Regions from separate parts of the Homo sapiens genome. Here region 2 is linked to region 1. Evidence: promoter capture Hi-C in human tissues and cell types (Jung and others, 2019). All regions are on one chromosome and are shown on one strand. Each heading gives the region's core, a stretch centred on a gene start or on the middle of the fragment in contact. The rest is flanking DNA. Distances are from core to core; before and after follow the strand shown. Region 1 holds the start of LRRC57 (leucine rich repeat containing 57). Region 2 overlaps INO80 (INO80 complex ATPase subunit).

Evidence for each region. Contacts are between HindIII fragments. The study calls those that stand out against the background at their distance.
Region 2: a fragment that was not itself captured here is called in contact with the fragment with the promoter of LRRC57 in region 1 in 1 of the 25 tissues and cell types used here (aorta).

The regions. Positions count from the first base shown.
Region 1 is chr15:42,547,057-42,551,213 of GRCh38, forward strand. It overlaps LRRC57 (leucine rich repeat containing 57), which reads right to left and starts at 1,737. Exons shown (of 6, transcript NM_153260.3): 1 at 1,637-1,737; 2 at 1,295-1,400; 3 at 1,050-1,188; 4 at 205-473. The coding sequence starts at 1,378. HAUS2 (HAUS augmin like complex subunit 2) reads left to right here and starts at 1,782. Exons shown (of 6, transcript NM_018097.3): 1 at 1,782-1,909. The coding sequence starts at 1,817. RefSeq lists an enhancer at 1,573-2,042. The HindIII fragment of the contact is 5,139 bases long and covers 1-4,157 here.
Region 2 is chr15:41,099,027-41,103,183 of GRCh38, forward strand. The region is part of intron 1 of INO80 (INO80 complex ATPase subunit); the gene reads right to left. Among named protein-coding and RNA genes, the nearest start is that of INO80, 15 kb to the right of the region's middle. The HindIII fragment of the contact is 3,775 bases long and covers 1-3,590 here.

The DNA.
Region 1 (4,157 bases), core at 487-2,986:
CTACACAACTAACACATCCAGTGTCTCAACTAATTCCATGGCACTTTGGGCCTTGAAATTAGTTCAGCCTATAGAAGAAACCTCTCATTTAGCCTCTGATACTTAGCTCTATGATGGCAGTTTAGGAAACAAGAGGTTAACAGGTATCAGGAGACCTTAAAGCCACACATATGCTGTAGGAAAAAAAACCTTAAAGCTCTAGACCTGATTCTGGTTGAGGTTGAGTTCGATGACTTGCAGCTCTCCCACTGAGTCAGGTATACTTCGAATCTGGTTCTTAGAGAGATCCATCACATCCAGGTGCCGTAGGCTACAAAGTTGGGGAGGTAATGCTCCCAGTTGGTTCCCAGAGAGGCTCAGGGTCTTGAGGGCAGAGAGTTGCCCAAAGGTAGACGGCAGCTCTCTAAGGTGATTGTTGTTTAGGCTTAGCGTCTCTAGTTTTTTCAGATTGCATATCTCATCAGGCAGAACAGCTGGCAAAGAAAAATTTTTTTAAAACCTGAATGTGATAGAGCTGAAAACAACTTTGATGAAGTTTATAAAGACTATATGGCAGCCTGCTTCGCCTCTTGTTAATATATGTAAAACTCCCACATGTGCCATTTTTAGATATTGCATTTTACCAACATAGTCTTTAGAAGGTGAGGGTGCCATCAAAATGCCGGAGAGCATTTGTGTGTATAATGGGCTCCTTTTGTAAAGGGGCCCAAGGCACAATCCGACAGCAATTTTGTGATATTTGGAAGATCCTCCCCTTCTCATCCATCCCCCATTCCAAGTTAGGTAGCTTTGTTTACATTACATCCCCAAAATGTTCTTCTCTTTCAAGTCCAAATTAACCCAGTAACAATCATTATAACACCCAATCATTATAAGGCTTATTTTAGATGTAATTACAAGAAGTAGAAAGAAGGCTTCAAGGATTCCGGCATTCGCAACTTGAGCCCTCCTGCACGGTTTCATAACAAAAACAAAAATCAGCTTGTAAGAGAAAACCACCCCTGGTAACAGCTGATCACTAGCAAAAGCCTCCCTGGCGAGAGCCATACTCAGTTTGTTGTTGTTCAGGGAGAGGCTCTTCAGCAGAGTGAACTTTCCTATCAGCAAAGGCGGTAGGCTTTCGATCTTGTTGTTGGACAAGTCGATGGTCCTGAGATTGCTCGTCAGCTTCTGCAAGTCTGCGGGGAACTGGAGAAAGGAGTTCACAGCGTGGGGAATCCCGCACCGACTAAGTTCGCCGCCCCCGCCGTCCCTCTCCCTTTAAGTTCCCTGGTCGTGTCCCTCCCAGTCTCACCTCGGTCAGCCCTCGGTCCTTAAGCTGAAAGACACCAGTTTTCTGCGCCGTTTCCACATGAGCGCGGAGCGCACTGTTTCCCATCCTAGCGCCGCGGCTCAGGTCCCTGCGGGAAGGAAGCGCTGCTGTCACCGCCCAGTCCACCCGGTCGGCCTCCCGGCTGGGGCTCCTGCCCCAGCTCTCAACTCCCGCCGATCCCTGGCTCCTGGGGCCCGACCCAAGAGCGACAAGGAAGAAACGGAAGAACACACAGCCCGACCACCAAGCCCTGCCGCCTTTGCAGCTCTGCGGAGGCCAGGCGCCTCTGGGAGCCTACGGAAGATCAGGGAGCCCCGGACTCGCCTCCCACCGCTCAGCTGCCGTAAGGCTCCGCAGGTGAAGACCCAGGACCCGCAGTAGCCGGGATGCGCTCCCCGGCTTAGTCCCGGGCGGGAACGCCCTGTGACGTCATCGAGCCGCGCCGTGCGTTCGCCCTGCGATCCCGCTCACTCTTGGCGCCTTCGCGGAAGGTGCGTCCGAGCCATGGCCGCTGCCAACCCGTGGGACCCGGCGTCCGCGCCTAACGGCGCTGGGCTAGTGCTAGGCCACTTCATAGCTTCGGGGATGGTCAATCAGGTACGTGGGGGTGGCGGTGGTGTCATCAAGGGGGTGCCCAAGGTGGCAACAATATGGCTGTGAGTTGGTGCTGCTGGCTGTGGGAGTGGTGAGGGTCCTGGTTGGGGTCTGTACTAGAGTAATAAGAGCCCCTTCCAGGCAACAGCCGCGAACGTTCTGCCGTGGATGCTTGGAAAGCGGGGATCTGAGTAGATGGTGTTTAGGGTAGACTGTGTTTTGAGTGTCTGTAGGGTAAATTTGTCCCAGTCCAGTTTGTGGGAGATTAGACTGTTACCAGCCTTTTTTTCATCCAGTGATACTGCCTCTAGACTGTAGTGTAAGGGCGGGGATGGGAAATACGGGTCGTTCTGTCCCCTTGCGGAACAAGCATTTCCAACAACCCTCGTTTGTGGGAAGTGTTGAATCGTATTTGGGGCGGGAGGTGCTGGGTAGAGAAGAGCGCCAGAAGCTCTTTTTTGACATTTTTATTTTATTTTATTATTTATTTATTTATTTATATGAGACAGAGTCTCGCTCTAACGCCCAGGCTGGAGTGCAGTGGCGTGGTCTCGGCTCACTGCAACCTCCGCCTTCCTGGTTCAAGCGATTCTCCTGCCTCAGCCTCTGGAGTAGCTGGGACTACAGGCGCCCACCACCACACCCAGCTAATTTTTTTTTGTATGTTTAGTAGAGACGGGGTTTCACCTTGTAAGCCAGGATGGTCCCGATCTCCTGACCTCGTGATCCACCCGCCTCGGCCTCCCAAAGTGCTGGGATTACAGGCGTGAGCCACCGCGCCCGGCCTTGGCATCTTTAAAGGCAAAAAAAAAAAAAAAAAAAAAAAAGTATTGGCTAAAAAGATAAGACCTTGGAACGTGAATGGAGGAAGAGATTAATTTTGAGAAGGAGAGAAAAGAGACATTAACCCAAGGAGTCACGGAGTGGCAGTTTTAGGTTGGGCAAGAGGAGCATGTCGGAGGAAGGAGCCAACAGAGGGAGAAATTGAACATGTGAGGAAATAATGGAATGCAGTGACAGGAGGGCATGGGGCAAGTGGGATCAAGGGCATTGAGAAAAATGGGGAAATAAATTTTGATATATAGAGGAAGTTGAGAAATTTCACTAAAAAGAAAACAGAAAAGTTAAACTGATCTGTAAAAATCAGCACATATTAGCCGGCATGGTGGCGTACACCTGTAGTCCCAACTACTCCGCGGACCACATGGGTCCTGGAGGCTCAGATGGGAAGATGGCTTGAGCTTAAGAGATGGAGGTTGCAGTGAGATGCGATCGGGCCACTGCACTTAGCCTGGGCGACAGAGTGAGACCCTGTCTCAGGGAAAAAAAAAAAAAAAAAAGCACTACAAACATGATGGAAGATTTACGGAAAATACATAACTTTTTATAGTCAGAAGAGCCATTAGAGACTCTAATACCTTACAGTATTTTTTAATTTAAGAAACTAAGGCTTAGACCAAGAAACTTGCCCATGGTCACTAGACTGTTAAAGGAGAATTAGATCTTAGTACTCTCCCTTTTGACACATTGTATCCCCTCTCAAGATGAACTGTTATAAGAGGCTGTGATACTGTATTAAAAGATTTTAAGCTTTTGTTGAACACCCATTGTCTGGGTGATGGGGAGATTCAGGTGGTCCTAGTTGACTAACTTTACCAGGAGTGACCACAGCACTCTACAGTGTAATCCTTCCTCCCTTCTCTCCTGTGTTTTCTTTTTTTTTTGAGACGGAGTCTCGCTCTGTTGCCCAGGCTGGAGTGCAGTGGCACAGTCTTGGCTCACTGCAAGCTCCACCTCCTGGGTTCATGCCATTCTCCTGCCTCAGCCTCATGAGTAGCTGGGACTACAGGTGCTCACCACCTCACCCGGCTAATTTTTGTATTTTTAGTAGAAATGGGGTTTCACCATGTTAGCCAGGATGGTCTCGATCTCCTGACCTCGTGATCTGCCTGCCTCTGCCTCCCAAAGTGCTGGGATTACAGGCGTGAGCCACTGCACCCGGCCCTCTCCTGTATTTTCTTTTTCTTTTCTTTTCTTTTTTTTTTTTTTCTGAGACATAGTCTCCCTCTGTTGCCCAGGCTGGAGTGCAGTGGTGTGATCTTGGCTCACTGTACCCTCTGCCACCTGGGTTCAATCAATTCTCGTGCTCCCGAGTAGCTGGGACTACAGGCACCTGCCATCACACCTGCTAATTTTCATATTTTCAGTAGAGACGGGGTTTCACCATTTTGGCCAGGGTAGTCTCAAACTC
Region 2 (4,157 bases), core at 453-2,952, 1.4 Mb before region 1:
TTGAGCCCAGGAGTTTGAGACCAGCCTGGGCAACATAGCAGGACCGTGTCCCTACAAAAAATTTAAAAATTAGCCAAGTATGGTGATGCGTGCCTGTAGTGCCAGCTACTCAAGAGGCTGAGGTGAGAGGATTGCTTAAGCCCAGGAAGTCAAGGCTGCAGTGAGCTATCATTGTGCCACTGTGCTCCAGCCTGGAGTAAGACCCTGTCTCAAAAAAAAAAAAAAAAAAAAAAAAAAAAAACAAACACACACACACACACACAACAAGAGAGTGAGAGAGAGGGAAAGAAAAAGGGAAAAAAAAAATGTTCCAAACTCCCATTGTGGCGATAGTTCCACAATTCTGTAAATCTACCAAAAATATATTCAAAATATACTGAACTGTATATTTTATTTAAATTATGTGAATTTCATAGTTTGTAAATTGTCAGTCTTGGTAATATAAAGAAAAAAGAATGCTAAAAAATACTTTTGGCCAGGAGCAGTGGCTGAAGCTTGTAATCCCAGCACTTTGGGAGGTGAGGCAGGAGGAGAGCTTGAGCCCAAGAGTTCAAGACCAGCCTGAGTAACATGGCGAGACCTTGTCTCTACAAAAAAATTTAAAAATTAGCTGAGTGTAGTGGCATGCACCTGTAAACCCAGCCACTTGGGAGGCTGAGGAGGGAGGATGGTTTGAGCCCAGGAGGTTGAGACCTCAGTAAGTCATGAACGCACCACTGTACTCCAGCCTGCATAACAGAGTGAGACTATCCAAAAAAAAAAAAACTTTAAATTTCACCTTTTCAAAATGAGACCTAACGTGTACCCACCCACTCCAGAAGATTTCAAAGAAATTGGTTTTTAAAATACAACAAAACTCCCTTAAGAGAACAGCAAATAATTCATCTTGATACATGTATAAATGTAAAACTACTCTGCTTGGCTCCATCCCAAGCTTTTATTACAGAACAATTAATCCATGCTCTAGTTATTTTACCTGATAAGGAAAATGACACTAATTAAGGAGGTATGACTACCAAGTAATACGGAGTGATTCGAAATGAATGGAATATTTTCTTTTCTTTTTTTTTTGAGACAAAGTCTTGTAGCCGAGGCTGGAATGCTGTGGCCCAATCTCGGCTCACTGCAAGCTCTGCCTCCCAGGTTCACGCCATTCTCCTGCCTCAGCCTCCCGAGTAGCTGGGACTACAGGCGCCTGCCACCACGCCAGGCTAACTTTTTGTATTTTTAGTACAGACGGGGTTTCACTGTGTTAGCCAGGATGGTCTCGATCTCCTGACCTCGTGATTCGCCCGCCTCGGCCTCCCAAAGTGCTGGGATTACAGGTGTGAGCCACTGTGCCCGGCCAATGAATGGAATATTTTCAAAACTTATTCCTCAGTACCTATGTGAGTATGAAATCAAAAACAATTTGTTGAAGAAAGATCACAGTTAACTTCTAGTCTTACAATCCTCAATATATGCTCCCTTTTGACACCCAGTATACATCAGTCCTGTCAACTGATTCATCCCAGAAATCATCTTTGCAGCATATCACCACTGATGGCTGAAATGACAGCTGCAATGAATTCCCTTATGTCCACAATACCACCAAAAAAAGGTGCTGTAAGCACAAAATTCTCCACAAGAAGTCCTATGATGACATCTGGAGAACCAAGTTATATTTTTTAAGTGTTCAATTTTTTTCTTTATGGTGGCAAAAGACATAAAACTTACCATTTTAACCATTTTTAAGTGTACACTTCAGTGGCATTATATACATTCACATTGTTGTGCAACCATTACTACCATTCACAATTTTTTCTTTTTTTTTTTTTTTTGAGACAGAGGCTCCCTCTGTCGCCCAGGCTGGAGCACAATGGGGTGATCTCCGCTCACTACAATCTCCGCCTCCTGGGTTCAAGTGATTCTCTCACCTCCAGCCTCCCAAGTAGCTGGGACTACAGGCGCACCCCACCACACACAGCTAATTTTTGTATTTTTAGTAGAGATGGAGTTTTACCATGTTGGCCAGGCTGGTCTCAAACGCCTGGCATCAAGTGATCCACCCACCTCAGCCTCCCAAAGTAGTGGGATTATAGGCATGAGCCACCCACCCGGCTGACAATCATTTCTTAATCACCTTTTAAGATTGCTGGCCTCTCAATTCAGCCTAGTCTTGATTAGCATGTTAAAAGCTGCTGCTGCAATAACCACTTTCATCTCCTCATTTGTCTCTTATTCCCTACAAGGAAACTGCATGGCCATCAACCTGACCCATCTGTTATCGTCCAACTTCAGCAAAACACTTGATAATTCTCAATAACCCTTTTACCCACCTTCTACCAATTGTTTCTCATTCTCTACCAAGATTACTTCAAATCTTTTTTCCCTCTTCCTCAAAATGCTGAAGTCATTCCCCGCTCATCTTGGAAGAGCCTGAAGAGCAAATCATTCCATCCTCTTTTATTTCACCTTAGCTCAATAGTTTCCTCTTACTTGCTGTGATATTTGAGTCACCAACACAAACAGACTTTATTTGTAACTTTTTTTTTTTTTTTTGAGACAGAGTCTTGCTCTGTCACCCAGGCTGGAGTGCAGTGGCGAGATCTCTGCTCACTGCAAGCTCCGCCTCCCAGGTTCAAGCCATTCTCCTGCCTCAGCCTCCCGAGTAGCTGGGACTGCAGGCGCCCGCCACAACGCCTGGCTAAGTTTTTTTGTATTTTAGTAGAGACGGGGTTTCACTGTGTTAGCCAGGATGATCTCGATCTCCTGACCTCGTGATCCACCCACCTCGGCCTCCCAAAGTGCTGGGATTACAGGCGTGAGCCACCGCACCCGGCCTATTTGTAACTCTTAGTCAAGGTGATTCTCCATACTAGTACAAAAGATATGACTATTTCTTGGCGGGCATGGTGGCTCATGCCTGTAATCCCAGCACTTTGGGAGGCTGAGACGAGCAGATTACAAGGTCAGGAATTCGAGACCAACCTGGCTAACACAGTGAAATCCCGCCTTTACTAAAAATACAAAAAAGTAGCTGGGCTTGGTGGCACGCACCTGTAGTCCCAGCTACTCAGGAGGCTGAGGCAGGAGAATCGCTTGAACCTGGGAGGTGGAGGTTGCAGTGAGCCAAGACTGTGCCACTGAACTCCAGCCTGGGCAACAAAGCAAGACTCCATCTCAAAAAAAGAAGATACGACTATGTCTTATGTCACTTATTATGGGTTCATGCCCATGCATTTGCATTTTAAAGTACATACTGTGTAAGTTACTTTATTTATGTTTCCCCAATATATTACAATTAGGGCATCATACTGCTTTTTAAAATTATATATTACCTATAGATTTCATTTCAGGATTTTAAAAAGGGCATATTAGGCCAGGCGCAGTGGCTCATGCCTGTAATCCTAGCACTTTGGGAGGCCGAGGCGGGCAATCACCTGAGATCAGGAGTTCGAGACCAGCCTGACCAATATGGTGAAACCCCATCTCTACTAAAAAATACAAAAATTAGCCAGGTGTGGTGGCGGGTTTGCCTGTAGTCCCAGCAACTTGGGAGCCTGAGGCAGGAGAATCGCTTGAACCTGGGAGGCGGAGGTTACAGTGAGCCAGTATCGTGCACACTGCACTACACCCTGGGCAACAGAGCAAGACTGTCTCAAAGGAAAAAAAAAGGGTGTATTATAAAATATTTGTAATAAAAAAGGAGAGTTGGGTCTGATACAGTTGAGAACCATGCTCTCTGATAACCACTGTTTATCAGAATGAATGAAGTTGATATTGTTGAGTGACTCTTGCTTTTGGATACTCTATTTAATAATCTTTGAAAACTTGGACTATTCCTTAACTCCTTGACTGAAACTTTATTCTAAATGCGGAGTACACCAAAGTTCTGTCATCTATTCCTACGCCTTAGAAAATCTCATCTTCTACCAGGAATTCAATTAACACTGCTGTATGACTGACCCTCTGGCTCTCAACTTGCACAGCATACAATCCACATTTCTAGATGCTTCTAGAAAGGCTTTCTAGATGTTTTCTAGCCCCTACAAACCCAAACTTCTCATATGCCTCCACAGCAGCTAGTTCATCTGTCTTTCCTATTTATATAACAATTATTCAGACTCAAAATCTATGAATCATTTTTTACACCCCCTTCTACTTCTCTCCTGGCA